7 separate regions of the Homo sapiens genome follow, and all the other regions are linked to region 1. The links are contacts of gene promoters, found by promoter capture Hi-C in blood cells and fetal thymus (Javierre and others, 2016). All regions are on one chromosome and are shown on one strand. The core of a region is centred on a gene start or on the middle of the fragment in contact, and the rest is flanking DNA. Distances in the headings are between cores, read along the strand shown.

Region 1 (4,374 bases), core at 581-3,080:
ATCCCCAGCGCCGCCGGGGGCTCTCGCGTGGAGCCGGCGCGCAAGGTCGCGGCGGGCTGAGCAGCTGCTGTGGGTGGCGGCCCGGCCCCGCCCTCCCGGCGCCTCCCCAGCCAGCCCCGCGCGGCGCTCACCTTGCCCGGGAAGGGCCCCGGGAGGAGCAACCTCAGGGCCTGCCTCTTGAGCTCCACCAGGCGGGCGTTGCAGTTCTCGCACCAGACGCCGCGGTCCGAGCCGGGGGAGGAGCCGCCGCCGCTGCCGGAGCCCGGGGAGCCTGTGCCGAAGCCCGGAGAGCCGCCCAAGGAGCCCGGCGAACTAGTGCCGATGCCGGGGGAGGCGGGTCCCGGGGAGCCGGTGAACGAGCTCGGGGACGAGGTGCCCGAGCCGGGAGACGGGGTCCCCGAGGAGCCGAGCGCTGAGCCCGCGCCCTCAGGAGTGGGCCGGCTGCCGGCGCGCGACTCCTCGTATGCTTTCCGGTACCAGCTTTCCGGGGAGAAGGGCGCTGCGGGCTTGGTGGGCGAGCAGACTTCATTCACCTGCGGGGAAGACACGCCGGTGTCAGGGGCTGCAAGGCGGCGGGCTGCAGCGCCCAGGAGCTGGGTCATACGTGCGCCACCAAGTACCCGCTCGAACCGCCCACGGGAGTCGGTTGGGGACCTCTCCAAGCCCTGCGGCCAAATTGCCCTCCGTCTGTCTCGTTAATTGTCCTTAAGTGAGTCCCCACCGCCCAGGTGACCCCTGCGCTGGTCCCCGGTGGCCTCCTCCTGGGGTCAGGAAGGGGACTCGCTCGGGGCCGTTTCCACGGCTTCTGCAAGGCGGGGGGGATCCATAGGTTCAGCGCCCCACGCTTTTGAAGCCGGCACCTATCCCAGCAAGATCCCGGGAACAAAATCCTGGAAGACCCTATGGGGGGGGTAGGGGGAGGGCTGTGATTTCAGGATTTTTATTCATACGGGGTCCAACTCTCCGGATCCTGCAGGTAAACGAGAGGCTCTCACGGCTCCAGCTAAACGATCCGAGGTACTGCCCAGCATTCATGGGAAACCCTCCCCTTCGGCTTCACTCTGCCTAGAAGTGCAGGAATGCGGCAAAAGTTACGGGTGCGTGGAAAGGAAGGAACGAGAGGGCTGAAAAAATTCCGAGAGCGAGGCGAGCGTGCGGGCGTCCCCGCGGCCGACCCGCCTCCGCGCACTCACAACCCCGCCAGCCCCGGGGGCGCCTCTGCAGCGGGGGAGAGCTCGGGGCCGGGGCCGCACGATCCCGGGGAAAGGGGGACCTCCGCCGAGATGGGTCTGGTAACGCGTCTCCGCGTCGTACCGTCACAACTTACCCCGTATTTCTTGCCCCTGGTGGAGACCGCAAGCCTCTCTTTATTCCCAGCTACCGAATTCATGGTGGCTTTTCCAGAGGAGAGTATCTAAAGGTTCCACCGACGCTACATCCAGAAGGTCCTCCAACCCAGAAGCGTCCCCCGGCTGCAGGGGGCTGGCTCTCAGCCCTCAGGGCAAGGTTTCTTCAGCGGTGGGGTGGGAGGGAATGAAAGCAAATGGATCCCACAAGTAATAGCACCAATTTGCAGAAAGGGTTGGGGTCGCTGGTTTATTCTTCTCTTCAAAGCATGCTTTTCCTCGTCCCCTTCTGCCTCTTCCAGCCGCACGTCCTCTTGTCACGGCCACATCCACAGAACTGGCATTTTCTTCAGCCAAGTCAGTCCGTGCTCCCCCACGAGGAAAGCGAGGGATACAATCAGGGCTCGCGGCCGCTGCCGGGAAGGTGGGAGAGCCGAGCCGAGTCAGCTGTGGGAACTTGTCTCCTTCACCGAGCTTGGTAACTGAGTTCAAAGAAATTCTCCCAAAATATAAAGATCCAGACTCGGGGAGGAGCCTCGGCGTGTCGCCGAGCCAATATCCGCCGGCCCGTTTCGCCTGACAGTTGCGCGAGGGCCGGGAGAGGGGCGGCTCCGCGTGGCCCGGGAGCGGTCGGCGGTCACAGCGCGCGTGTGCGCCCGGGCGCAGCGCGGAGGAGCCTCGGGAACCTGCCGCCCTCGCCGCGCCGGCCGGGATCCATTTTATGTGGCGGCGCTCGTGCCTGACATTGCGAGGCCTGGAGCCGGGCTGGGGCTGGGGGCGGGGGATCGTCGATCTCGCCGCGTGCGGGGAAGTTCCTGGCGCGCGGCCCGGGCCCGGGGCTCTAATGAAACGCCGCTGCGCGAGCCTGGAGCCCGGGGGCCGCGCGAGCGAGCGTGGCTGGACGGAAATGCGGTGCCCCAGCCTCCCCCGCCCCCAAGTTCTTTCTCTTCCTGACAAGGCTTGCAGGTCTGTCTGTGAAACGCCGTGCAAAAGGGATTGAGTCACAAACAAGTCCACAAACATGCCGGGTCCTCCCCCCGCCCTTTGTTCTCGGAGAGCTGCCGGGCAAACCTTTTCTGGAATTGCCCTACCGACCCCGGGCCGGCCGGGGGGCCACCCTCCCCGACCGCAGCCGCAGGACTAGGGCCCTTGGTCCCCCGCCCGCCCGAGCCCCGGTCTGTGATGGACTAAGCCGCCCGGGGCTGGGACAGGTGAGCCTGGTGACCCAGCGGGCCGCTGCCGGGCAGGGGAAACTGAGGGCTTCGCCGCGCTGCACGCGGACGACTCTGGCCTGGAGAGGGGGTGTGGCGCGAGCTGGCCTTGGCCTCTCCTTGCGTGGGATCGGGCCCCTCGCCCCCCGCCGCCCGTTTCTTCCTGCGCCTGGGCCCCGCGGGGTCTCCGGAGCACCCCGTCATCGCTCCCTCTCCGATCGCCCCCCGCCCCAGTCCCCCGGCGCAGCGCCCAGGAGCGCAGGAAGCCGGCGTATGCCAGGCTCCACACGTGGCTGCTCTGGGGTGTCATTTTTCATTTCACGGGAGGACATTTCTTCTGGTGAGCCAGCAGGTCTGTTTTGTTGTGACCTTTAATTAACACCCCGCGAGACGCCTCTGGAAGGACTGGCCGGGCGCAGGGATCACGTGGGGTGTAACGGCATCTCCGCGCCCGCGGGGAGACCCAGCCCGGGGGTGGGCGAGGGCGCGAAGGACGTTCAGGGCTTTCTGGTCGCTGACTTCCTTCTGAGCTGTGGACGACGCAGGAGGGGGCAAGAAGACAAAGGTTCGGGGTTCTGGAAGCCTGGGGCCACGCCCCCACTCTGCCTTCCTCGGGGACAATTTCTTCTGTGCCTCCCGTGCTCTGCCCCACTCCTCCCCGCTCCAGCTCCTGCGCGGGAATATTTCACAGCCACCAAAGCGAGGTAAAAAGGTCAAAAGGAAGATGGCAAGAACAGAGTGGACGTTTCCGTTACGTTCCCACTTCCAATTTAAAAGCGATCCTATCAATAGGGGACCTTAGGGGGCAGGTACACCTCCAGGCAGCACGCGCCAGCTCCCACCCGCATCTGTATTTCGCGTAGGTGCCGCGAAACACATCATCGCCATTGGCCACGAGCCGCTTATCAGCCAAAAAGCAGCGTGTGGTGAAACGAGCCGGCGAGGCCGCGGGTGGGGAAGGTGGGGTGTCGAGGGGGAGTGTTGGGGAGCTGCGCGATCCACCTCGGAGACGGGGGAGCCCAGAGCTGCTCTGATTTGCATTTCTAAGTAGCTGGGGGCCCAAAGCGTGTTTGGTGGGCTCCGAGCGCCCTCTGTTGATTAAAGTTTATAACCGGAGGCTCTGCAAGAGTTTTTAAGAAGCTTTCAAAAATTGATGTTTATGTAAAATGTATATACATAAGATGAAACGCACACATTTTAATTGTTAAGTTCTATGAATTTTGACAAACGTGTACTCTGCGTAGGCCACCACCTCGATCAACATCTATAAATTCCTGTCCCTCTTGAAGGTTATCTACCTTTTCCCAGGCAATCCCCACCTCTCATAAGAAACTACTGTTCTGATTTCTATCAGCATGGGTTAGTGTGGACTGATCTGGAAGGGTTTTTAATTCATAGAATCCGTACAGCATGTACTCTTTTGGGTTTGGCTTTTTTCACTTAACACAGGTTTTTGAGTTTCATGTTGTTGCTAGTATGGGTCTGTTTTCTATCTCTACTCTCTTTCATTCTTCTGTCTCTCATGCCTTTTTTTGTTAATTGAATAACTTTTCAGTATTCCAGTTTCATCTCTCTGTTGACTTTTTAGCTCTGATGATTATAATATGGATTTTTTTTTTGAGGCAGGGGCTCACTCTGTTGCCTGGGCTAGAGTGCAGTGGCGCTATTATGGCACACGGCAGCCTCCATCTCCCAGGCTCAAATGATCCTCTCTCCTCAGCCTCCCTAGTAGCTGGGACTACAGGTGCACACCACCACACCTGGCTAATTTTTTTTTTTTTTAAGTAGAGACAAGGTTTCCCTGTGTTGCCCAGGCT
Region 2 (4,374 bases), core at 905-3,404, 970 kb before region 1:
CTATGATGATAGAAAAATTGAACATATAAGTTTTTCTCCTGATGACTTGCTGTGGTCACCTGCCTCTGGGGAACCTGTTTTCTGAGGATATTCTTTCCAATATTGTACTTGCAACTCATTCTGAAATTATGGAATTAGTATTGTTAGTTTCCTCTTCTCTCTGCCTTTAAACAGAAGTAGACATAGCTACAGTTATATATTTGACTTGGCAGAATTTTCAGTTTTCAAAATGCCTGCTATGAAGGGCATGGTAAGGAAGTATTTTTTGCTGTGGGATCATGATTGTTTCTATGCACAAATTTAGTGAGTACACTCTTTGCTTGACTAGCTAACAAGTGCTATGGGCTTATATCCATTTTTCAGTCTTTAAAAAAAAAGAGAAAGAAATGTGTTCAGAACTTTCTCAACTCGATGGGGAAATTATTCATGTTACGTGAACAGACGAGTCCTCTCCATGGCAGCCTCTTTCATGTAACCTCTAGTGAGTTTTTACTTTCCTTATGTGTACAAGCTCTTTATTCAGGTTTGATTAAATGGCAAAACAATAGCTGTGGACTGTCTTGGTTCCCTTTGGGCTACTTTGAATAGTGAACATGCAGCAGAAGATGCCAGGAGTCAAAGGAAATGGCGCTGAATGTCGAAAGGTCAGTCCCTCAAAGATAGTTTCACCAAATGAGAAAATAGAAACTCTCACAAAAAAGCTGAGGTCAACCATGCTTTACTCTATTCTTAATTTCTACTTTTTTTTTTTTTACTGTATTTGATGAATAAATTTCCTTTTACCTCATGTAATGTTTAGGTGTAAATCTTTCATTGTTGTAAAGGTGTTAAGTCAACAATTACCTATTAAAGCTTTCATGACCCCAAAATTGAACTATTCAGAAATACAAGTGCATTAAGACATTATTTTTAAAGGCTTAATTTTTTTTAGAGCAGTTTTAGTTTCATAGCAAAATTGAGAGATTTTGAAGACACAAAGATTCCCCATCTGTCCCCTGCCTGCACCTTGTCTTCCATCTTGCATATTTTTTGAAGGATCGCAATGAACAAGAATGGGATCAACAGTGGGGAGGGCCACACACCTGTAATCCTAGCACGTTTGGAGGCCGAGGTGCGCAGATCGCTGGAGCCCTGGAGTTCGAGACTAGCTTGAGTAACATGGCAAAACCCCGAAAAATACAAAAAAATTAGCAGGGTGTGGTGGTGTGTGCTTGTAGTTCCAGCTACTTGGGAGGCTGAGGTGGGAGGATCACCTGAGCTGGGGAAAGTTGAGGCTGCAGTGAGCTGTGATCGCACCACTGCACTCCAGCCTGGGCAACAGAGTGAGACCCCATCTCAAAGCAAAACAAAACAAAACCAAAAAAGCACACAACACACACACACGCACAATGGAGCTGACTAATCCAGATACTCCTTTCACCCCCTAAAGGGAGAAAAAGAGTATCTGAGCTCTACTGAGTTTCTGTTGTGGCGAGTATGGAACTTTGAAGTCAGACTGCCTGGGCTTGAGGGCCAGCCCCACTGCTCACTGGCTGTACCATGTAGAACAGCTGTTGTACTCTCTCTAAATCCCAGTTTGTTCATCTATGAACTGAGGATTCATAATATTTACCTTGCAGGCTTTTATAATAAAAATTAAATAAGATTTCTATGTAAAGCACTTATCAATGTGCCTGGCCCATAGAAAGCACTCAGTAAATGGTATGTGCTATTGTTCATTCTTTCCACAAATACATACTGGTTAACTTACCCTGTTCCAGACACTTTTCAGCATGCTGGACTGTATAGTGAACAGTTCCTCCCCTCATAGAAATATATTCTAGAGGTAGGAGGCAACTATAACCATAATAAATGAGCAAATTACTTTGTATGCTAGAAACTGGTAAGAGCTATGAAATAAAACTGAACATCGTAATAGAGATGGGGAGGAGGAGTGCAGGAATTGGGGCAACTTGCAGTTTTACATAGAAAGTCACATTAGGCCTCGTGGAGAAGACAACATTTCAACAGTGACTTGGAGGTATTTGATTGTTATTGTTACTACCAAGTAGGATTTTGTTCTACCAAACAGGGCTTTGCTTTACGCCTACATTTCTACCCTTACTGCATTTTGTAAAAGTTGATGATAATAATAAATGCATACTTAATACTAATAATTAAAATAGTAATACTGGAAATTATAATCTATGTTTACACTCATTTTAGCTATATAATCTCCTCTCCTTTTCGTATTTTTCTTTTCTTTTCTTTTCTTTTCTTTTTGAGACAGAGTCTTGCTCTGTCTCCCAGGCTAGAGCACAGGGGCGTGATCGTGGCTCACTGCAACCTCCGCCTCCCAGGTTCAAGTGATTCTCCTGCCTCAGCTTCCTGAGTAGCTGGGATTACAGGCACGCGCTATCATGCCTGGCTAATTTTTGTATTTTTAGTAGAGATGGGGTTTCGTTATGTTGGCTAGGCTGCTCTTGAACTCCTGACCTCAGGTGATCCACCCGCCTCAGCCCCGCAAAGTGCTGAGATTACAGGCGTGATTCACCGCACCCAGCCTCCTTTTCATATTTCACTCATTTCCACTGCAGTGAGTTTAGGGATTAGACCAGTAAGGAAATTAGTTCTTTTTGCTTACAGACAACAGAAATAGAAGAAAACAAACTAGAAATTAGCTCCTTAAAAACAAAATACTAAAACAAAATACAGAATTCTTCTACAGGATTTCTCAACTATCTTTTGTCTACTTTATCCAACTTTCCAATGCAGTATCATCACACTAAAATGCTAGTATTTCTGAAAATACTTGGGCTCATCTTTGTTGAAGTTATTGACAAAAAAGTTCTCACCTTTTCTGTGAATGAGAAATATTGAGGTGTTTATGCAGTCTATGGTTTGGTGCTGCAGTTGACTCAGGTTGGCATGGGAACTGGTGCCTTGTGACCGCTTACAATAACCAAGCATCCTCAAAGAACAGGAAAAGCTGCCCTTTCAGAGTTCTATATGGCATTAATCTGTATTTCTCTCTTCTAATCATGAGCAAATGATATTTTCCTTTACAGAGCTAGCATCACCTTTTGGTACTTTTGCACTTTACCTTCCTGTGTAGATACATTGGAATCCGCTCTCTACGGTTTCTCTGTGCATCCAAAGCAGTGGTTACTAACCCTATTAGATTCAGTGCTGCATCTTTGTAATGTGTTTTGGAATATCCCCTTCATTTCTGAAATGAAATGTATTAATAATATAACTGCCTCTACACATAAATTTAAGTATTAAAATAGTGTTACAATTTTAATATAAAGAAAAGAGAAAGATAGCTTTCAGTGCATTTTATTATGTAAATGCTTACTTGTTGACTATTCCTGGAGATAAAATGATGTCATCAGATGTTTGGACCTACTTGCAATGAATATATTTGGATTAAAGAGGAGTAAAACAACATTCAACTGAGTATTGGCAAAAGCTTTTCTTTCTATTTGAAGCTTTGAAATAAGGAGTAAATAAGTATACACATAAACATACATAGAATCCTATAAATGTAACATCTGTGTATGTAGATTGATGCCTGGTTATTGTGTTGGTGATTGAAATGCCATGAATTGTCGACATGATTTTTCACAATGATGAACAACTCTTGGTACAATTGCAAACAAAACAAAGTATAATTCCTCTTCAATTTACATTTAAGGATGTTGCATTCCTTGATAATTCAGTGACTACTAAACAGTGCAAGAAACACTTGTGTCTGTAAGTAAAATACAGTTAGGCTCTATATTCAAAGAAGTAACAGGATTTTCTCACCTACCGGCAAGTCTGGTGGAACATCTGAAAGACTTGGAGGATACTGGGTAATTATTTGTTATCTAAGGCTGTCCTGTCTAGCAGGCCTGGCTACAGTCTACCACATGCCATTGTGACAATTGAAAATACTGAAAATGGTCCCTAGTACCCCCAGTGAGAACCACTGATCTAAAGCTCCTTTGCAGTGCTCATGCCCAGATGGGGATCCTGTCCAAGCTGCAGTGCTGTGTTGCTCCATGATTTAGCTTGGCACGGCACTGCGCTGTGTGTAAGTAATGCTTCTTAGTGCTCTGGAATTATTCTGCTTGAAGCACTTTCCAGATGGCTGGCTGATAGCTTCTGGGGATACTGAAATGCTGTTCCGATGGTTTCTAACCCTCTAGTCTCTTCCTTCCAATACATCTTATAGATTCCTCAAAGTTTGTTGTGTATAAAATGGATACAGTGGATAGGTAGTTGCCACTCCTTTTTACTACTACTCGAATTACAAATTATGTTTTCTTGGTGGTGATGTTTCATTGATGGACTGATTGCTTGATTGGCTGTTTTCCTCTCTGTCGTTATCTAAGGTTCATAGCCATATTG
Region 3 (4,374 bases), core at 1,067-3,566, 960 kb before region 1:
GATTGTTTATGTATTTCTTCAGATTGCTGATAGATTTTATTCTAATAAGCGAAAAGCAATTCTAAGCCTTGATCCTTAAAAGGTATATTTCCCTTGGCAGCAATTCTAGTGGAAACAATGGGTAGTCTCTTTTTATTAAATTTTATTTATTTATTTATTTATTTATTTATTTATTTATTTATTTATTTTTTGAGACAGAGTCTTACTCTGTTGCCCAGGCTGGAGGGCAGTGGCGTGATCTCGGCTCACTGCAAGCTCCGCCTCCTGGGTTCAAGCGATTCTCCTGCCTCAGCCTCCTGAGTATCTGAGATTACAGGCTCATACCACCACACCTGGCTAACTTTTTTGTATTTTTAGTAGAGTTGGGGTTTCACCATGTTGGCCAGGCTGGTCTCGAACTCCTGGCCTCATGATCCGCCTGCCACAGCCTCCCAAAGTGCTGGGATTACAGGCGTGAGCCACTGTGCCCCGCCTAAATTTATTCTATTTGTATGAAATAACTCTAAAAATTTGGTCTTCATTAGTGTTTTTACTTATACTTCAAGATGCTGAATTATTTCTGTGTAAATATATTGGCATTTCTGTTCTATAAGACAGCATTAAATGAAATAGTTTCGTTTCTTTTCCAAGTATATTTTTAAAAGTACATTAGTGTAGCCTATTTTTTATTTTTTTGCTTTGTCTTTTGATAGTGAAACAAAATACTACTATTCTAAGCTTGGGTTTTCAAAATACACATTATTCACGGTGTAAATTCTGCAGTAGCCTTGTATTGTAGCATATGAAGGAGGAAAAATTGGATCCATTTAGCTCTGATCCCTTTTTTGTTAGCAATTTATGTGTATAACCAACAGATTTCTCCTTAAGAAAACCTCATTATTAAGCTAACTTAGGGAAATTTAGTAAAGAAATGATTTGGAGGAAAGCAAATAAAGTAATCCAAATATACAATAATTATACCAAAATTTTAACATCGATTTATAAGAATATCTTACCACTTTTAAATTTCTTCCAAAATTGACAGATACTGATTTTTTTCATTAACTGTCAGTGGAAATCCTATGGGAGACAGCTCAAATTTTGACAGCTTCAAGAAAATGGATGGCTTCTCCTTCTGTGTGGTAATTGATCTTACCTTTTGAAGAATTAGCTCATAAGTATAGATTTGGAGAGAGTTACAATATGCAATACAGCCTTCCTCTTTTGAAAATAAGTCAGTCATTCTGTGAACTGAAGACTTCAGCATGAAGAAGGTTGCTCTGAAGGGCAGAGTATATAATATTATTTGGTTGCGACTTTTGCTAGCTTGGTGGCTCTTGAGAAATCTTTAGTGAACTTGCCAGTTTCATGTTTGTAGGGGGTATGCATCTATCCAGGATAATCATCCCCCATTGAAAAACTAACCTTTTCAAGGTTAAGTATAATGTGAAACAAATAATATTGCTCCAGAATGAATTTCTGTGCAGTTTGTATGAATTAACAGCTGGCTAATAAGAAGCTCTTGAAGTCTATCATAAGCAAGGTCTTGTATTAGCCATAGACTGAGCAGACCTATTGCTGCCTCTACCGTTTACCTCACATGGTGAAGTAGTCTGGGAAAAAGCAGTGTCACTGTTCCACTCCAGATAGCTGTCATTATGGTATTACATAAACTAGCAGACTGCTGTGGGACGCAAAGGGGATGTGCACCGTTTTGGTTATTTGAGGGGACTTTGGCATGCCCTTGTAGGAGCCCAGAAGGAAGGATCATACAGTTTAGTCTTAAGCTGTGCAAAAACATGACCACATGAATGAAACCAGTCTTCCTGAGGCCAGAGGGCTTATAAAGAGGAAAGATACACACCTTGAGTAGACTTCTTTTTGAGCAAGGATATCCAGAAGTAGAGTGTTAAGGCAAAGCAAAAGATTCTTTAGACTGCACTCAAGTCTGTCTTTATAGGCATTTCTTGCTTGTGTAGCATGGAAAGGACCACTGCTTGCTCAGTGTGGCTTTTTTTTCTGCTATGCTGGACCATGTAAGTAGCCATTGAGATAATTTATTCCTGAGTCAAAATAAGAGGGCATTAAATTTAGTAGAACTGAAGTTGGCACTGGCTAGACTGATTACTATGATGGGATCCCTTGGAGAGCATCACTGGTGAAAGCACCTGGATTCTATTTAGAAAAACTTAAGTATGTAAGTTGCCTTCTTTGGGGGATGAAACTTATAATGAACTATTGTAGAGGGTATGAAAGCCCACGGCATGTTTCTATCATATACTATATATATATATGCTATACTAAGATGTTATGCATGGGTCAGGGTCCTTGGTAAGGCTCACCTGTCATTTCTTATGTAGTTTATATTTGTTTCTCTTTGCGCAAGGATTTGGTGAGTTATCTTATGGACAATGAAAGGAGAAATGTCCTAATGCAGAGTTCGCTCCTAAGTTTAAATGAGAAATATCTAAAATCCTAAACCATGAACATGGTTCATGGTTTAGAACCCTTAAAATGGAATTACAGTACTTTTAAATTGGTAGGTGTAAGGAACATGGCTGCACTGCAGCCAGGCAGGATGGGCTGAGGTAAACATCCCGGGTGACTCAGCAAGTCTGTAGCGCAGGCGCGCAACTCCATGTGTAATATAAACAGCTATGTAGCCATAACATGGGAGGGCCATCACTTGGCTCTTTGCCACTGTTGTCTTTAAAAGGTATAATTGCCCTGGTGACACTGTGCAGGCGTGCTTGCACCCAAAGAAAGAGAGAGAGCACCAGATCTGTCTGTCTTGCAGCGGGGAGCCAGGACACAGCTCAGCTTGCTTGCGCTCAGAGGGAAAGAGTTAAGCTGTTGACCCCAAAGGGAGAGAGAGCCAGCAGAGATCTGTGCTTGGGAGTGGCTGGAACAAGCAGCCGAGACACACAGTGTAAGAGAGCTGCTGAATAAAATTGTATTTCACCTACCCGTAGCCCCCTGAGTGTTCTTTCAGCTGTCTGCCATTCATCTACCCACTCCCTTCCGGCCTCAGCATGGGCTGGAACCTGACCCTGGACCTAACAATGGGGATCTTAGGGACTTAAGAGATCATCTAAATGAACTCTTTACAGATGAAGAGACTGAATCCCCAATGGTTAAATGACTTGTCTAAGTCCACACATCTAGTTAGACGCTGAGCCAAGACAGAACCTGATTTCTGGTTTCTAGATGTGCACCCCTTACTCAGTGGCATGTACTGTAATTCACAGTTTCCATTCACTTGTTGCCAAGGTCTGCCACTTCCGAGAGTTTCACAGTTTTGGTGTAAGTGTACATTGCCAAATGAGAAATAGCTTGGAAATATAACTGAAGAGACATTATCTGTTGTGACTGCAGCTGAAGCACCAACTTTTAACCAGTATTAGCACTGCTTATTTCAGCTCCTATCCTTATCTCAAATAATTCTGCCTTCCTATAACACATGATGGGGACCCCTGGGAGCCGCCAAAAAGGACACTTACTCTGAGGTCTTGCCCAGGTCTCTGCTTCTTCCTCCTTGTTCCCAGATGGCAAACGGACATCCTCATAGTAAGACTGGGCTGCTTTCCACCTGCGCAGCCCCATGGTAAGCACCTGCAGCTCCAGAGGGAATTTATTTTAGTAAAACAAACAAACCTGGAGACCAGGAGATCAATTATCAGTAGTTTGGTAATAATTGAAAACTAGGTCAGAGGCTTCTATTCCTTTTTCCATGAGAGCTGGATATGTGAGGTTGTTCTTGATGAAAGCTGAATTTTTAAATGCAGGTTAATGGCTTTCTTGGAAGCCAGCAAGCAATTAAGGTTTTCTCATCCATGCAGAAATTACAGCTGCAGGGGGCAATTTTTAAAAATTCCTTTGGATTCTTAGAACATACTATATTTATTTATTTTCCCTTAAATTCTGACCTTAAGCTTAAAAATAAGTTTGTTAATACTAACGTTGTTTTCCCTTGAGCTAGCTTTGAACCTCAAATGAATTGCAAACTGCGAAGTGACTGCTGTAGGGCTACTCTTCAGTAAGCTGGTCCAGTTATATGGTAATGAATCCATTTATAAAAAAAATTGTATGTGAGCTGTTTCCAAGGCTATTATAGTATTTCTTTATCAGACTATACATAATTTTACGTTTGTAACATGGTACAGTTCCAACTGAATAGGCAGTAATTTTCTTTATTAGAGTTGCATTTTAGAGTGGTTCATTCATCAGATTTTTATCAAATATATTCTTCGTGTCATTCATTGTGATAGGTTCTGGAATATGATTAAGAAATGGTCCCTGAACTCCAGGGGCTCACAGTCTAGGAAGAAAAAAGACAAATAAAATTATACCAATATAATGAATGCAGTTCCATGGCATATGAAGAGTGTTATAGAA
Region 4 (4,374 bases), core at 1,033-3,532, 890 kb before region 1:
GTGGCTCTTGAATTACAGTTATATTCTTATACGTTCCCATGGATTTTCCTCCACAGTTTTTTTCCTGTCATATTAATTTGTTTCCAATCTTAGTTTCTCTCCATTCTTAAAATATTTAGTATATATCTGTGAATCCAGAGAAACGTAAGTATTTGTTACTGCTGGAGAGTGTTATAAATTCAAATGATGAGCTATATAAAGGTAGAATTTAGAGGGAAATATTAGCTTTTCTTTGTAGCTGTGCCTTCCAGAACACACAGAAAACTTGAAGCTTTCTGCAGTTAGAGGATTATGGGCATTCAAATCAAATGGACTTGGGGTCCCATCCTCAAAATGTGACTTATCAGTCATAAGACCTTGAACAAATTGCTTAATCTTTTTGAATCCATCATTTTCTCAACTATGAAATGAAAGCAATAAAACCAATTTTGTGGTGGAGAGTGTTAGAAAAAGTGTTTCAGAGTGTACCTCATAAGGGCCCAGGAAATACGCAGGTAGCAATTTTTATTGGTAGTTTCATCTAGGAATACAAATTATGATTAAAGCGTATGTATTTAGTCACCCTTTTTTTTTTTCCCAATAAAGATTACATACCATCTAGATTGAGCTAGGTATAACTCTGAGTCCGTCCATTGGAAGAGAGGTTATACCCCCTCCAATTCTCTTCCAGAACCAGAAGTCATGATTTTTCTGATATACCCAGTTTATGTGATCACTCAGGCTATGAATGTTTTTCTCTCTCTTCCTTTAGCGTTACCTACTTAGAGAGTATGAACATTGCTGAGTTTACCCACTACAGGTCTTGGACTTATCGTGTGCATACGACGTAGGGCCCTGGCAACACTGGGATACATGCCCAGGCACACACACACAGAGACTTTCCTTTCACAAAAGAAGTTTAACTTGGGACAAGCTAATAAGAAACTTACTATTAGAAACTTCAGAATGCTGTTATGTAGGTTTCAGCATATGCAGAATTTTGTCTTTTGATGATTAGTATTTTTATTTTGAAGTCCGCACTGAGGAGAGAGAGTGAGAAACATGAAGTCATTTCACTCTGTGGGGACTCTAAAGAGCTTCTTTCCACCCTCAGGATGGTGGGTCCAGCGTGTGTTGCTTAAGGGTGGGAATATTTTCTGGGAAGTGCATCTTCAGGCAACTTCATAGCTGAGCAAACATCATAGAGGTACCTACACAGACCTGGATGGTATAGCCCACTATACACCTGGGCTGTGAAGTATCGTCTCTTGCTCCTGGGCTATAAACCCGAACAGCATGTTACTGTACTGAATGCTGAGGCAATTTTAACACAAGGTTAAGTATTTGTGTATCTAAACATAGAAAAGGAATAGTAAAAATACAGTATTATAATCTTATGGGACCACCATTGTATGTGTGTTCTGTCCTTGACTGAAATGTCATTATGCAGTGCGTGACTATATATCTGTCTTTTTTCTACCATGTGGTTCTTGGAGAATTTATATATATCAGAGAGGGAAAAAGACACAACCATCTATCTTCTAGTTATTTGCTATTTGTGCGATATTTTACATGATTTTCAAACATATTTCTAAGCAGCAAATATTAAGATGTGTTACAATCAGTGACATGTAGACCACAAAATTCTAGCGCTCTATAAGAACTGAGGAATCAATGACTACAGGAGTTTTCAGAATATTTTACCACCTCAGCACCTTTTCAAATGAAAGGAGATACGGGAGCCCCATGAGTCATTTTGTTCTGGGGAATGGAGTCGGTAACTACTGGTTTAATATAAGCCCCAGCTGAGGACCTTGACATCCAGAAGGATTTATCCCCACGTGGCTAAACTTAAATTGTTTCTCTGTTTGGTGGCTGGCTGCATTTTGGGTTAATTTGGCAAATTCCTACGAGAAAGCAGTGCTCAGACGGCAGCATCAGCTTCATTGAGATACTTCTTCTAAGAGAAGTGAGACGTTGGGTCAGCACCATTCTGAGCCCAAGGTCACATTTTCGTGAGAAAAAAGATAAGCGGCAGCACTTGCGTTTGTGGTGGCGAAGCACAAGTATTTAATTTCTGAATAAGCTGTGATGGTGGGGTGTCTGTGCCAGGAAGCTTGAATCCGGGTCATGTTCCTACTTATTGAACCCCTCCGGAGCTACATAAATCCTCTTCTGTTTTCATCTTTGTTGTTATTAATATCCCGGTTGTATATGTAATACAGGAAATATCCAAAACAGCCCAATATTAATTGCAAACCACGTGTTAGAATACAGCTATTTGAAAAGTGAATGCTATTTCTGTTTCATGATAGGATCTTGTAAGGTTGACTGAATAAATACAGTTTAATACTAGCCGGGAGAAATGTCTTACTTAATTCTATTACATCACAGATCATGTCGGACGTTAACTGTAACTTACGCTAAGACAATGGTACTAATCAATGCTGCGTTAATGTTGTTACTTTTCTAGTACTTGAAATAAGCTTGGGCTTAGCCACTCTTCTTCTCATATCCCTTTTGATCTAGTGGCAAGATGTTGAGAACTATTGGGCCTGGTCTGTGTCTTTGAAATACAATATAGGTCATTGGCAGAGAGTACTGAACCTGCGCCCTTGGCTCCATTACAGCATGACCTAATCAATTGAGAAAACGCCTCTCCACGGCTTTTCTCTGGATGATTCTCCCCTCCTTACTACCCTGTGACTGATGTTTGTCATCTTGTGGCTCAACTAAACTGTCGCCAGTTACTCCTACTCTTTTGATCTCACATGCTGTGAGTCTTACCCATTGGCGCTTAGTAGAATTTATGGAATCAATTTGTGTAAATGGAGACATGAAATCTCAGTTTGTAGTATCAGTTTGAGGGATACAGCAATCCCACATTTCGAAGGCTGCTACAGATCATTCACAGGTGTTAGACTTATTACAGAGCTGTGTCTTTCTTATTCCCCAAAGCCTTTGCCACTTTGGTTTTATATGTTGGTTTCGGTAAATACACATTTTCTAATATGCATGTTGTAGACAGTATAGTGAAGTGTGGTGGGTGCATATCTGCATATACCTATGTTTACATCTAGATGAACATATAAATAAAATATACATCTCAATATGCATGTATATGGGGATGAGGGCATATAAATATGAATAACTTTGTTTTGGTCAGGACAGAGCAACCGACTACAATTGCCAGGATAATTTTTGTAATTCAACAAGAGAGATTTTAAATTGTTATTACACATTGCTATTTGTATTTTTTAGGATGCAAATCCATGCTGAAACCTCCAAATTTCCACGGTCTATGTTTTGTTCCTTCACTTATAACTGTGTCTGCTTCTCCATGGTAGGAGAAAACAAGGAAAGGAAATTGTGACTTTAAAATATTAAACTCTGGTAGAGACTTGAACGGCCAATTTTTGTTTATTTGTTTGTTCTTTTTCCCATCCTTTCCCCAGTGTTTTTTTCCTGAAAGTCTTGCCTATTTTATGCAAATAACATGTATTTTAATTGGCAACATTTTACTTTCCCTGTTTCTACTTACAAAATTTCCACAAAGATATTTGTTTTAAATTTATAGAATGCAAAAACTAAATTCATTACAAACTAAGGCTAGGAGCCTTTAGACCCTGGAGCACAGTCATGCAGGAACAGAAGAATGAGTATGAAGTGGAAATCCCGAGAGATCCCCTAGTTGTAAGAACTCTAACAGATGCCCCCATGTCACTGATGTCGGAAAGATGTTGGAGCTAGGCAAAGCCTGATAGAATGGGTGATTTGTGAAATTTTTATACAGCGATCACCTAGAAAACACTTTTCTAATTTTCTTTTGATAGGATTCGTATTTGTGTCGAGAAGTGTTTTTTAACGTCTAGAATACAGTGGCCTGAGAGTTACCCGAGGCACATGTGGATAGGTACGTCCTGGCTCCCACCAGGATGCTCGCTCCATTTTGTGTCTCAGCCTTCCGTCGAAAGTTTTCATTTGTTCGTTTGCTTTTTAAGAAAGAGTTTTTGATAATTCTGTCTTAGAAGGATGAGTAGTTGTCTCATTAAGAAGACTCTTGGTGGTAGCATGGTCTGACTAGCTTAAGGTACAGTCTTTCCTCTTTGAGTTTCCTGTGGTTTTACTAACTCTTTGCTTTCCCTCTGACATAAAAACTAGAAGCCATAAATTACGGATAAATTCCACTACGTAAAATAAGAGATCTTTAAAACTCTGCATGGCAAAGCCACTATAAGACAAGTAAAAAACTAAACTGGGAGAAAAATAGTTGCAGCTTATATCTCAGAGAAAAGATAATTTCCCTAATGCTGGGGTTGGGAACTACAGCCCAAGGCCCATATCTGGCCTGCTGCCTGTTTTTATCAATCAAGTTTTATTAGAACACAGCCACAC
Region 5 (4,374 bases), core at 1,071-3,570, 820 kb before region 1:
GGAGGCTGCAATGAGCTGTGATCATGCTACCGCACTCCAGCCTGGGTGACAGAACAAGATCCTGTCTCAAAAACTCGAAATGTGATTCTATTACAGCTGTGCTATTAAAACTCCCACCTCTTTAAAGATGGAATTGAGCATTACCCAAAAACTTTAAAGGGAGAATGTCTCTGGGCTATGTAAAGAGCTACAGTTCCACAAACCCTCCTAAAAGAAGACCCCACGTGCTCAAGGTCCCCATGACCGTGGGTCTGCACCCAGAGCCAGGCTGGAGGGAGGGCTGGGAGACTCGCCTGCCCAAGCCTGGTTTGAAGACCTGATGCATGGAAGCAACAGTTCTTTGAGAGGACAAAATAGAAAAAGAGAAATAGTATGGAATTCTTTCTTTCTGCAACAAGTTCTATGTAATCGTTTCCCAAGTTAAAGGACCCCTTCTTACTTAACTCTAACCATAAACAACTTTATTGGAGCCAGAACTTACACATGCTTTCAGTATTAACATTAAAGGATCATTCTCAGAAAGTCTGGCTTTTCTGTTTCCTTCTTTGCTTTTGTTATGGCAGGATAGATTGGACTTTTTCTTTTAGATCTAAAAATCTTTTTTTCACTTGGTACCTTGAGCATTTGTATTTATAAATGTTTGGTTTCTGACAGCTGTTTTGGGTTCAGTTGTATAAGGGAACCTTTAAATTTAAACCGCTTTGCAAGTGTTTATTCCTTTAAAACATTTCTAATGTAAATGTATATACATAGAAGGATTCTGAAAGGTTCTTCTTAGTCAGGTTTAATCTGTCCTGACAGCTCAATGCTATTGAATTCTTAAAATGAAGATGTCCTGGTTGTCTGTGCAGCCCAGGGCTCCCAGAGGGCTCTCAGGTAGCTAGTTAACCAAGGGACACCCAGCAGTGGCAGATCCTCATCCTCTCAAAAAGGGCAGAGCTTCGGGACACTGGTCTAGCCCAGCAGGCATCCCCTTAGCACTGTGTGCTGTTGGCACTACCTGTCCTAAAACCTCAATATTTATTTGGCCTCATGTTTATTCTTTGCAGACTTATTGAGCACCTACTATAAATCAGGTAGGTCATCGTCTAGATAGGTCTGACCCAGATAAACAAGGTTTCTGTCCTCTTCAAGCTTAATTTTAAGTGTAATCACAGTGGGATACTCCAAGTTAGGGATCAACAGACCTCTCTCTAAAGGGTCAGATAGTGAATGATTTAGGCTTTCTGGGCTATACCGTCTTTCTTAGAACTGCTTTACTCTGCCTTGTAGCTCAAAAGCAGCCATAAGCAATACATAACTGGAAAGGCAGGGACGAGTACCAACAAAACTTGATTTACAAAAACAGTGGCCGAGGTACCATGGGCTGTAGTTTGTTGACTGCTAGTCTAGACAATGCCAATCCACTGAGACAGAATCCATATCATACAGTCTGGAGTAGGGATTTGTTTCCCAGACTGCAAAGCAGCTTTCCAGTCAACGTCGGCAGCCATAGAGAATAAGTGCATTTCTCAGCATTTGCTGCCTGTTGCAGAGTTACTGACAGCTGCATTTGTCATGTTCTTGAATTATTTTTTCCACCTTGGTTTAATAGGTTTCCCAAAAAGCCTCAGTGAGGAAGCATCACCCTAATTTGTTCTACATGTCATGTGTGTGATAAGCAGAAAGGAAACAGACAAACTCAGACCTTGAAACTGGAATGAAGCATTTAATTCCTGCTCCCATGCTAGCTTGGCAGAGTTGAGCAATACATCTACAGACGTCCTTCCAACACAATGACTTCGTTGCCCTCTGTGTGGCCTCTTACCTGGTGCTGGGCTCTAGGGTTGATGTAGGACTTGGGTCCTGCCCTCAGGGATCTCACATCACAGGAGTGGAGTCGATGAAGTACATTCCTGCCTTCATTCCCGAGGCATGTCTGACTACCTGCCACACATGTGCAAGGAGAGCAAAAGTGACCAAGGCCTGGACCCCGTCCTAGGTGAGTTCACAGTAAAGCAAATGAAAAATCATGCACAGTAAGGTAAAATCCAGTGCTGCAGCCTGTGATAGAGATCATGCCGCTTGGGTTGCTGAGTTCTCCCCCTCGTTGTAATTCAGCAGGCTTCCCAGTGTGCCCTGCATCCTCATCTGTGAGGCCGACTTCACTATCATTCCCACTTATAGGTGGAGGAGACTGAGGCACAGAGCTCCCAAAGCCCCACAGCTGGCGAGTGGCAGGGCTAGCGTGCGATGTCCACTAGACTGGTGTCTGACGCAGAAGCTGCGCTTCTCACCCCTGGGATCTGGAAGATAATTCTGATGTGTGAGATCCAGGAGAATGCATTGTTTAGCCAGAAAATGTTTTGTAACTGCATTTTTGTTTTTGACAGAAATGTGACTGCCCACTGAATAGTGAGCATTGGAATTAGAGACCATCTAGCTGCCGGGGCTGGGTTTGGTCATCTTGCGTTTTTTAAGTCTGAATTGGGATGCTGTATTCGATTCTTAAAACGGCCATGGTGACATACCACAAACAGGGTAGCTTAAAACAACAAAATTTTTTTCACAATTCTGAGGGTAAAGGTCTGAAATCAGGGCGTGTGGGCAGGGTGAGCTCCTTCTGAGGCAGACTGTTCCGTTTCTTTCCCGTAGCTCCTGGTGGCAGCAGGCTGTCCTTGGTGTTCCCTGCTTGTACCTGCATCACCCCAGTCTCTGCCCCCGTCTTCATGTGGAACTCTCCTTGTGTCTGTCTTCTCATGGCCACCTTCTTACTGGGATGCCAGTCATGTTGAATTTCGGGCCTACTTACTCTCTAGTGTGATCTTTTCCTAACTCATTCTATCTACAGTGACTTTATTTCCAAATAAGGTCACATTTTAGGGTACTGGGGGTTAAGACTTCAACATAATCTTATTGGAGGGAACATAATTCACCCCATAACAGACACCTTTAGACAGGATGGAACTTCCTTATTCACCCCTAGCCCATCCCAGTTGTTTTTACCCTGGAAAAGATTCCCAAATCTCTGTTGCCATTGCCCTCCTTGGGCATTTGAGTTGACTCCTTCTTTCTTCAAGCTATTTCTGTGTGATGACAGAGAGAGGGTTTAAATGACTCATCTCCTATCTAGGTTTCTTTCATTAAGATGCCGAGACTCTTCTTTTCACTAAATATTATTTCCACCCACTCATGGAGCAGAGAGCCACGTTCCATAAAAGGGCTCTCTGATATACGGTAGTAGTCACATGCTTTTAGCAATGCATACCTGCCAAGAATGGACAGATACCTCAGATTAGGCTGTACTGTCCTGAATTTTTGGTCTCTTTCCCAGGTGTTTCCCAGGAAAGAAATTCATTATCAATAAGGTGGAAAGGACTTCTCAGTATTGAGCCCCATAATTTGCCTTCGTAGTGTTGGAGGGAACAAGGGGAAATGGGAGCAGAAATGAGAAATGGGAGAGGAGTTTGGGAAGTAAGGCGGAAAGGCCAGCACAGGTAGCATTGCTGACGAGAGACAAAGCTTGGATGAGGCCACTCTGCCTTTCACCACCAAGGCCTGTAATAGACTGGCCAGGCTCCGAAACGCTGGACTCAACGTTTAACTGCCTGCTCTGGAGGATTTAGGACAAACAGGGAAAAACCTTTTGAAATAGTTCTCTCTGCCCCCCGCCCTCCCGCACTTATTTTTTTTCTAATAAAGATGATTTCTACCCACTCGTGAAGTAGAAAGACGCAGTCTATAAAACAGCTCTTTAATTCTGGAAACTTACCTCTGGATTCAGATCAGCTCTATAAATGACTGGAATGGTGACTGTTGTACTTATTTTTTGTGGGAACTCTTAGTTGAATTTTACTTCATTGCAATTGTGGTTAATTTCTACTGAGTTTTAAATGCCTGCACACACTAGGAAAAGTTTTTTGAGCGCCTACTGTTGGGTATCATGAGAGGCACGAAGATGGATAAATCATGATTCTTGCCCTAGATGAACTTATCAATTAGTAAGGGACAGAAGATGCCTCCCAGCATAAATAGTAGAACTAGGAATGGGTAAGAGCACCTAGAGAGGAACCAAATGTCTCTGGATGTTCCGACTTGGAAGCGTTTACTTCACGATTCCTTCTGCCCATGTTCACTCAGCTCCTACAAAGAGCCAGGCGTGCTGGTGTATAGTGATGATAAACGACAGCTGACAGGAGCCAGGATGCTGGGGTGAGACTGGGCTTGCACCTGGCTCTGTGGCCTGATGGAGGGAGGGGCTTAGCCTCCATATGCTTCACATCTTCTTTATCTGTAAAATGGGAATAATATTAATATCTCCCTCACAGATATGCTGTGTATACATAGACACAACACAGAGAAAGTAAGAAAGACTGCTTGCCAGCCGAGTGCACT
Region 6 (4,374 bases), core at 595-3,094, 810 kb before region 1:
TTTCTCTTTATTGTTCGACGCAACCCACATGCAGGTTTGTTTCTCCATCTCTTCACCTCATCTGGCTGACATGTTGATAGGAGCTTAGCCAGGCTGTCTGGCCACGAAACCTAAAATCATATGGCTTGTTTAGTTGGTAAGGACATGGAGGAATAAAATAACCATGTGGACGGCACTGTGCAAGGTCTTCAATGACAGAGGCGTTGAACTTCAGGCAGAGTTTAGCGATCATCTCAACCGTGTCCTTGTTTCACAATTCTGGGATCAACATCCGCAAAACTACACTTCTGACAACATCAGGATCCTCTAATATTTCATGTATACTCATCTTGCAAGATAGGTTGTAAAATAAGATGAGGAACCTGAAACAATGAGCAGTTAAGCCACTTGCGTCAAGTCCCAAGGGTGGCAGGAAAAACAGAGCAAGGAGTGAGATTGATTACTTGCAGCCTTTGGATTTCACCATGAAGTTGGTGGTTTTTAAATGGTTTTTTCTCCCCTAACATCGACCTTTCTCCAGTCAAATGGTGGGAAACCTCACATGTAAAACAGATGAAATACAGCTGCTGGCTCACGTGGGAGGCTGTGTCATGTGGTATGATGTTTAGAAGGAGGGTCTTGGAAGCCAGGCTGCTCTGAGCCTCAGTTTGCCCATCTGCAAAGTGAGGATAACTACTATACGTGCCTCACAGGGTTACCGTGGAAATCAGCGAAATCAGTTCCCAGCTGTAATAACCGTGCAGTTTATTCAGTCAAAAAACTTTTATCCGGCAGCTTACTGTATTCTGGGCCCTGTTAAAAGGACGAGGTGATGGCTGTGAGGAAACAGGAATCCCGGCTTTCATGGAGCCTACATTCTCAGTCTCAAAATACATGTTAATTATAGTAACATGTGTCGAAGGGGCATCAGACCCCTCCTATTGATACCTCCTCTGTGTGTCTGGCTCTAAAGGTTCCTTAGAGCACTGTGTGAAAACCACTGTCCTAGGCTACACATCTTAACATCTAGGATGTTTTTAAGAGCTGGAGTGGGGAAAAAAAATGGAATTATATGACAGTGTTTAAATTTTCCATTACTGACATAAACTATTCCAGAAACAACAGGTAGAAGAGAAGGATGATTTAGGCCTCCAGTTTGGAGAGTAATTAGTGACTTGTCTGCTTTTCCTTCCTTAGTCATCTTGAGCACTTGCAGCTGTGCATCTTCCTTTGTGCCTGATGCAAGCTGATATTTTAGGGTGAAAGGGTGAGAAGGAAATTTAGATTCAAAGTGCTGACAAGATAAAGTACATTCTGTAAAGATTCATTCCCCTTAAAATTGGAGTTCTTACCGAGATATCTTCACTTAGCAGACTGATGTCAGGAAAGTAAAAAATGGAAGGGAACTTTGTGGTTGAAAATTATGTTCCTAGAAATGAGGGTTGACCCTGTTTCTATGAGAAGAGAGAGCATGTGCGGCTCTGCTGATGGGTACAGAGAAGTGCCTTTGTGGTAGCGCCCAAGGGAGAATGCAGAGTAGACCACCATCTCTACTCTGATTGTTTTCAATTCTTTCTCAGATGCCTACAAACATTTAAACCTTGTCTGACTCTGCCTTCCCTTGGTAGTTTTAAGGCATATGGAAGAATTTCAACAAACTGAATTGATTTGGGGGAGAAGGAGGTTAGATTTTTTTTTAAATGTTGCCATTTTAAGGAGCTAGATAATATACAAGAGACCTTTGGCCTTCGGCCTTCCTGTGGAATAGGTCCCGAGGGAGTTATGAACTTCCAAATGTGAAAATGCCTATGTAATTATTTTTCTCTCTGTGAAAAATGCAAAGTATATCTGAAAAAGTTAAGTAATTCCTCTAGATGTGTAACGATTCTATAAATTCAGGATTAAAGTAATTTATAAGGCTAATTTATGCCATTTATTTATTTATTTATTTATTTAGAGACAGAGTCTGGTTTCTGTCACCCAGGCTGGAGTGCAGTGGCATGGTCTCAGCTCACTGCAACCTCCACCTCCCAGGCTCAAGTGATCCTCCCACCTCAGCCTCCTCAGTAGCTGGGACTATAGGCACACACTACCACACCTGACTAATTTTTGTGTCTTTTTTTCGTAGAGATGGGGGTTTTCCCATGTTACCCAGGCTGGCCTCGGCCTTCTAAGTGCTGGGATTACAGGTGTGAGCCACTGTGCCCAGCCCTATGCCCATTCTTTAGTGCTGGTAATAGAAATGAACCAATCTATCAGTTGGTTTTCATGTCGGGGTCATTTTCAGGCAGAAAAATAGATTGTTGTCCCTTGACCTAAATTGTCTGCTTTCATAACAGAAAGCCAATGATAACAAAGCCATGTGAATCAGTCTTTTCCTGTGGAGTCAACCTTACAACAAGGAGGATTCAAACATCTTCAGTGAAGTAGCAAATGATTACATATCACAGATCTTTGCATCAAGCAAGGTCAAGTATGCACGTGTTAACTCAGTGAATTCTAAGTATCTGATTAAATTTTGTAAGTCAATGCCAATTTCCCTTTGGACTCAGAGTTTACCTGCATAATTTTGTTTTATTAATATTTTAAAATAAAAAGATATGTGGCCGAGCACATGTGGCTCACACCTGTAATCCCAGCACTTTGGGAGGCTGAGGCTGGTGGATCATTTGAGTCACGAGTTTGAGAGCAGCTTGGGCAACATGATGAAACCTTGTCTCTACAGAAAATGGAAAAAGTTAGCCGGGCATGGTGGCACACACCTGCAGTCTCAGCTACTCAGGAGGCTGAGGTAGGAAAATCACTTGAGCCTGGGAGGTCCAGGCCACAGTGAGCTGTGACGGCACTACCATACTACAGCCTGGGCAACAGAGCAAGACCCTGTCTCAAAAATGAAAAAAGAAAAGTGATGTTGTCCAGTGAACTAAAAAAACAGAGATTTTACTCATTTTGTTCTGTGAATGTTATGCTTTATTTAGAGAAATGAGCCATCAAACAGGGAAGACAGCACTGGTATAAGATGAGCTGGCAGAGACCTTCAGGTGGTCACAAGAGAACACAGTGAGCAATGGGAAAATAAGGCAATTCTCTTAGCACTGGAAGGCGTTTAACAGACCATCTAGTTGGTCAGCTCCCCCTAGCTTACCTTTCACCCTTTGTTTTATAAATAGGGAAACTGAGATGAAATCACCCAAGACTTTTGGGACTGTCTACCAAAAATCACACAACCAAGTCAGAGCCAGAACCCAGGTTTTCTAACTATGATAGTTGTGTTACTGTTGTGCCATCCTGTCTTCTGAGATGTTGGCCCATCTTCATCAGAAAACTTTGATCTGGAGCTGTCGGGAGCCGTAGAATAACAGAGCAAGCATGGATGTCTTGGCTTGCCTAACACTGCTCCTCACTTAGTGTAAAGAGCTCTTGGCCGGGCATGGTGGCTCATGCCTGTAATCCCAGCCCTTTGGGAGGCTGAGGCAGGTCAATCACTTAAGGCCAGGAGTTTGAGACCAACCTGGCCAGAGTTTGTTTGTTTGTTTTTTGTTTGTTTGTTTGTTTGTTTTTTGAGAAACTCCATCTCTCCTTAAAAAAACAAAAACAAAACCCAAAAAATTAGCTGGACATGGTGGCACACGCCTATAATCCCAACTACTTGGGAGGCTGAGACGTGAAAATCGCTTGAACCTGGGAGGCGGAGGTTGAAGTGAGCTGAGATCATGCCACCAAACTCCAGCCTGGGAGACGGAATGAAACTCTGTTTCAAAAAAACCAAACAACAACAAAAAAGAGTTCTTAATGCTCCTGAAAGTTATTATCTAGCCTCTGCTTAAATACTGGTTCATGAGATAGCCCACTCCCCCAGGGTGGTGATCCCAGATATACTACCCTTTGATTTCTGTCCCAGTTCTTCTATTTGGGGTCTGGAGCACCTATGATGTGTCAGTCACTGTACTATATGAAAGAGATACAAAGTAGGATAAAATGTAGCTTCTTCTTTCTAGGAATAACCCTAGTAGTAAAAGAAACAGACAAGTAAATCAGCAATGATGGTTCAGTGGGGTAAGTGGTATTGTTAGGGGTATGTACTTTGCTACGGAGGAGGAGAACCTAAATCAGACTGGAGAATGAGGAAAAGCTTCCTGAAGGAGGCAACCCTTGAGCTAAGTTTTGGAGTAGGAGATAGATGAAGCAAGAGAAAGGGCAGTCACACGAATGAAAGAGCCTGTGGAAAGTACATTCATCAGCACAGCACTTTAGAAAATGGTGTATGGTGTTCTGTAGGGCTGGAAAAAGGGAGATTTGTGGCCGGTGATGAGAGGAAGGGTGAGGAAAGGATGCAGAGGCCAGATTGTGAAGGGCCTTCATGGATAAGCAGTCTGCATCGTGTATGATTGTATT
Region 7 (4,374 bases), core at 1,082-3,581, 780 kb before region 1:
AACAATTGTATATATTTAGAGTACAATGTGAATTTTTGGTAAATGTATACAAGGTGGAATGATTAAATCAAGCTAATTTAGCATATCCCTTACCTCATGTCATTTTTTACGGTGAGGCATTTGAAATTTTTTCTTGGAAACTTTGAAATATATATACAATTTATTATTAACTGTAGTCATCATGCTGTGGTGATCTCAAGAACTTATTCCTCCTGTGAAGAAGGTGAAACTTTGCACCCTTTGACCAACATCTCCCCATTTCTCTCCCCAGCCCATGCCTCTGGTAACCACCATTATACTCTATTACTATGAGTTTGACTTTTTAATATTCCACATATAAGTGAGATCATGGATTATTTGTCTTTTTGTACCTGGCTTAGTTCACTTAACATACTGTCCTCCAGGTTCATCCATATTCTTGCAAATGACAGAATTTCCTTCTTTTTAAGGGCTGAATATTACTCCATTTGTGTATCTATACTACATTTTCTTGATCCATTTGTTGATGGACACTTAGGTCAATTCCATATCGTAGCTAATGTGAAAAATGCTGCAGTGCACGTGAGAGTGGGAGCACGGATATCTCTTATTTTAGTTAGTTGAGTACAGAAATGGGATTGCTTGATTATATGGCAGTTCTATTTTGAGGTTTTCGAGTAACTTCTGTACAGTTTTTCATAATGGCTGGACTAATGTAGACTCCACCAGTGTGCAGGAATTCCCTTGTCTCCACATCCTCACCAAGGTTTATCTTTCATCTTTTTGATGAAACAGGCATGAGGTGATACCTCATTGTGATTTTATTTTGTATTTTCCTAATGATTGAGCATTTGGTGATATTGAGCATTTTCTCATGAATCTTTTGACCATTTATATGTCTTCTTTTGAGAAATGTCTACTCAAATCCTTTGCCCATTTTAAAATTGGGTTGTTTGTTTTCTTGATATTGTGTTGCTTGAGTTTCTTATATATTTTAGGTATTAACCTCTTATCCGTTGTATGGTTTATAAATACTTTCTCCCACTCTGTGGGTTGTCTCTTTCTTGACCATTTCCTGTGCTATGCAGAAGCTTTTTAGTTTGATGCAACCCCATTTGTCTACATTGTGCTTTGGAGTCATATCTCCTACTTGCTTCTGTCTTTAATCAGGGGTCCATTAGGTTTGCAAATGAAATAACGTGACTAAGAAACAATGGAAAACTATAATGTCAAACTGTCGCAAGACTAGCAGTGTAGTGAAGATGCAGCTTAGTGACTAAGTCGTGAGCATGGGCCTTTGTCCCCGCAACCTTACAGCATGCTCCCTGGTAAAACTTGAGACCCTCCAGCAACTTCCTGGCAAAGGGAAATGTAGTTGGTCATTGTTTCTATTATGGATTTTTTTTTTAATTGAAATTGAAACAGATGCCGAAATCACCTGTACTCTCGTAAACCTTCCGGTAACACTTTGTGGATTCTGGGATTTGCGAATCATCATTTAAGAAGTATAGCCTCTCCTCTCCTGAGCTGACCTCCGTCGCCAGCCTGGTCCCCTCCCGCTGTTCTGGTTTGGAGATTTCAAACCCTTTAACTATGTGACCAAAAGAGGCAATGGGACAGGCAAGGACTGAATTGGGTCCTGAAGGATGGATAAATATTTGCCATACAGATAAGGAGGGATTGGGAGATACAATTTTTAATCTCTTAAGGTTTATGAGAAGATTCTGGAAAAAAATCTGTACTTAATAACCTGTCATATTCTGTGGGTAGAGAAAAATATACCCTGATTAAAATTCTTATTGTGCTTTTAAAGTTAGAGAAATATTAGTTCTAGGAGTCGGGGTGCCGGGGGGCAGAGGCAGTTATGTAGTGTAAAAGCTTCTGCTTCTGGTTTTCGTACCTGCCAACTCTTCCTCCTTCCAGTTTTTCTGTCCAGGGTTTAATAAAACTAAGTACATTAAACTCCGTTTTGAAAACTCATATTTAGTCCCTCTAGTTAGTAAACTTGATGTGCCTAAAGTCTTCTGTGCCAGACACTGTACTGAACATTTTAGACAGAAAAGTTTTAAAGGAGATGCAGATGGTCTTGGAGGAAACCTCTGTATAGTTGTGTTCAGAAACTGAATCCCCTTCTTTTTAAATGTGTTTTAAAATTTGTATATATATTGGGAAATTGAAAGTATTATTTGAAATAGGCTGTGTAGAATTCAGTAATTGGGGGAGGGGGCTGGGAAGTGGCTGGGTTCTTGTCTTATGGTGTAGAATTACTCAGCTCTGATTGGTTGTGAGTTTGCTTATGGCTGTTCTGATTTTTACCGTTGCAAGATAATGGCTTAGTAGTGATTTTCTCTTGTGTTGCAAATATCTCAGTTTAACTGCTGCTACAATACAAAGCCTTTAGTCCTAAGAATTTCAGGAAAAATATGAAATTTGAATACATGGTAATACACTCATTTTGTAAGGTATTCACTTTGTGTGTTGGTATTGATTTTGCTATTTGTGTCTAATCTACCGGGGAATTGCTAACCTCAGGACACAAATGTCAGATTCTGGACCTAGACTCTGAACCAAATGACATAAGAATTTGGTTCACAGAACATTTTAAGTTTCACTGTAGTTGTTTTTATAAAATACAGAGGCTCAATGACAACTCACTAGATTTTTGTCATCTAGAAAAACTATAATATTATATATGAAGGCTTTCAATTAGTTTAAAGGAAAAATTACAGAAAGTAAATATAACTTTGCATTCAATAATAAAACAATTTAAATATGTGTTTTAGTTTTAAGACATGGTAAAAATTTCTAAAGTAATACTCAAGCTTAATTTTTAGAAAGAATTCATTAACCCAGTTGCATTTATTTTTTATTGAAGTAGTACCATTAATATTTTTTTCTAAATGTTATCTTTTTGTGAAGTAAGCATTCATTAATTGTTTTAACCTGTGCAATTCCCTAAGAAAACTGTTTTCACAAAGACAGTACTTTGAAAAATGTTTAAACTTTTATTTCTGGGCTTTATTTCCATTCTTTTAATTCTTGATATAAAGAGCAATTCCTTTCAAATTATTGAGCACACATGGACATATTATCTACCTATTCTTGCACTAAAAAAAAGCCAGAGAGCTTCTGCATATCCACTGTTGCTATCAGTTGTGTATGTCAAAAATATTTCCTGTCAGGTTGTTAATTGAGATAGTGCTGGATGGAGCCAGCATTTTAAATAAAAGTGAGAGTAGGCAAAAAACTAAACCTTCTGTTTACTAGCCCAGAAAGACTAACACGTAACACTCAGACTAATATAGATGAAATCCAGGAGCTATGGCTCACTCCTGTAATCTCAGCATTTTGGGAAGCCGAGACGGGAGGACCACTTGAGGCCAGGAGTTCAAGGTCAGCCAGGGCAATATAGCAAGACTCCTGTCTCTGCAAAAAGTTTTAAAAAATTAGTCAGAGGTGGTGGTGCCAGCCTGTAGTCCCAGTTACCCCGGAGGCTCTGAGGGTGGATTACTTGAGCTCCGGAGTTCGAGGCTGCAGTGAGCCATGATCGCACCACTGCACTCCAGCCTGGGTGACAGAGTGAGACCTTGTCTCTAAGAAAAGGAAATAGATTTATTAGTGTCTTCTGTTTGCCAGGCTTTGAGCCAGGTACAGGACTAGAGTGATGAATGAAACACTGTGTCTGCCCTCCCAAGTATTTTACGATCCAGTTGTGTATGATGGCAAGTAAATGGGTAAATAATGATCCAGTATGATAAATGCTGCTAAAGAGGGAAGTCATCTTAGGAAATCAGGAAGAGTTTCCCAGTGGAAGAGACAAGCAAGCTGACATTTCCTCTTGTTAGCTTTTCCTTCTTAAACATTCCATCAGAATCCATGAAATAAACCGATGGAAAAAAACTGATAAAGATTTTTCCTATTTTGAAAAAACCGTTAATTTGCTTCATAGTCCAGGAAAAAACCATGCTGGTTTGATTCAGAAGTTAACAGATCAGATGTGTTTGACCTGGTTTTTTTGTTGGTGGATTATTTCAACTAAAGTTCTCATTATACTTTAAAATATTTGTTAAAACTTGTATCCCTTCCCAAATTATACACATTTAAAAATGTTTAAAATTTCAAAAATTAAACGTAGGACTTTCTGTCTTATATTTTTACCATCCAATTTATACATAAGTATATATAGACAATGTACTGTTGCTGCTTAATGCAAAATAGTTGTCCTTAAAGCAATTTAGCATTTGTTTACAAATATATATGTATAATTTTGCTCCTGATTTGAAACTGCAATTTTATATATTTAGAGGGAAAAAAGCCAAATCATGCTAGAGTGCACTAGATTTCATGTAAGAGCTGTTTGGAGCAGTGGAAGAGTCTCAGAGGACTCAGTGTGTT

What was found. Contacts are between HindIII fragments. The CHiCAGO score rates a contact against its expected background, and 5 or more counts as called.
Region 2: a contact is called between a fragment that was not itself captured here and the fragment with the promoter of KIF26B in region 1, in 1 of 17 cell types (total CD8 T cells). The highest score is 5.3, in total CD8 T cells.
Region 3: a fragment that was not itself captured here is called in contact with the fragment with the promoter of KIF26B in region 1 in 4 of 17 cell types (naive B cells, fetal thymus, naive CD4 T cells and 1 more); the score reaches 6.2 in naive B cells.
Region 4: a contact is called between a fragment that was not itself captured here and the fragment with the promoter of KIF26B in region 1, in 1 of 17 cell types (naive B cells). The highest score is 5.5, in naive B cells.
Region 5: a contact is called between a fragment that was not itself captured here and the fragment with the promoter of KIF26B in region 1, in 13 of 17 cell types (M0 macrophages, M1 macrophages, total B cells and 10 more). The highest score is 10.2, in M0 macrophages.
Region 6: a contact is called between a fragment that was not itself captured here and the fragment with the promoter of KIF26B in region 1, in 7 of 17 cell types (total B cells, endothelial precursors, naive B cells and 4 more). The highest score is 8.2, in total B cells.
Region 7: a fragment that was not itself captured here is called in contact with the fragment with the promoter of KIF26B in region 1 in 1 of 17 cell types (erythroblasts); the score reaches 5.2 in erythroblasts.

Annotation. Positions count from the first base shown.
Region 1 is chr1:245,152,441-245,156,814 of GRCh38, reverse strand. It overlaps KIF26B (kinesin family member 26B), which reads right to left and starts at 1,830. Exons shown (of 15, transcript NM_018012.4): 1 at 1,328-1,830; 2 at 132-533. The coding sequence starts at 1,390. RefSeq lists silencers at 1-421, 2,289-2,488 and enhancers at 2,343-3,018, 3,019-3,694. The HindIII fragment of the contact is 4,692 bases long and covers 1-3,699 here.
Region 2 is chr1:246,125,784-246,130,157 of GRCh38, reverse strand. All of the region lies in intron 5 of SMYD3 (SET and MYND domain containing 3), which reads left to right. Among named protein-coding and RNA genes, the nearest start is that of SMYD3-AS1, 19 kb to the right of the region's middle. The HindIII fragment of the contact is 2,599 bases long and covers 855-3,453 here.
Region 3 is chr1:246,108,999-246,113,372 of GRCh38, reverse strand. All of the region lies in intron 5 of SMYD3 (SET and MYND domain containing 3), which reads left to right. It overlaps SMYD3-AS1 (SMYD3 antisense RNA 1), which reads right to left. Exons shown (of 4, transcript NR_183265.1): 2 at 3,480-3,591; 3 at 1,844-2,042. Among named protein-coding and RNA genes, the nearest start is that of SMYD3-AS1, 2.6 kb to the right of the region's middle. RefSeq lists a silencer at 1,472-1,766 and enhancers at 2,321-2,820, 2,821-3,322. The HindIII fragment of the contact is 3,194 bases long and covers 720-3,913 here.
Region 4 is chr1:246,038,020-246,042,393 of GRCh38, reverse strand. The region is part of intron 5 of SMYD3 (SET and MYND domain containing 3); the gene reads left to right. Among named protein-coding and RNA genes, the nearest start is that of SMYD3-AS1, 68 kb to the left of the region's middle. The HindIII fragment of the contact is 370 bases long and covers 2,098-2,467 here.
Region 5 is chr1:245,977,847-245,982,220 of GRCh38, reverse strand. All of the region lies in intron 5 of SMYD3 (SET and MYND domain containing 3), which reads left to right. Among named protein-coding and RNA genes, the nearest start is that of SMYD3-AS1, 130 kb to the left of the region's middle. The HindIII fragment of the contact is 2,367 bases long and covers 1,137-3,503 here.
Region 6 is chr1:245,958,289-245,962,662 of GRCh38, reverse strand. The region is part of intron 5 of SMYD3 (SET and MYND domain containing 3); the gene reads left to right. Among named protein-coding and RNA genes, the nearest start is that of SMYD3-AS1, 150 kb to the left of the region's middle. The HindIII fragment of the contact is 4,538 bases long and covers 1-4,113 here.
Region 7 is chr1:245,931,777-245,936,150 of GRCh38, reverse strand. The region is part of intron 5 of SMYD3 (SET and MYND domain containing 3); the gene reads left to right. Among named protein-coding and RNA genes, the nearest start is that of SMYD3-AS1, 170 kb to the left of the region's middle. The HindIII fragment of the contact is 944 bases long and covers 1,860-2,803 here.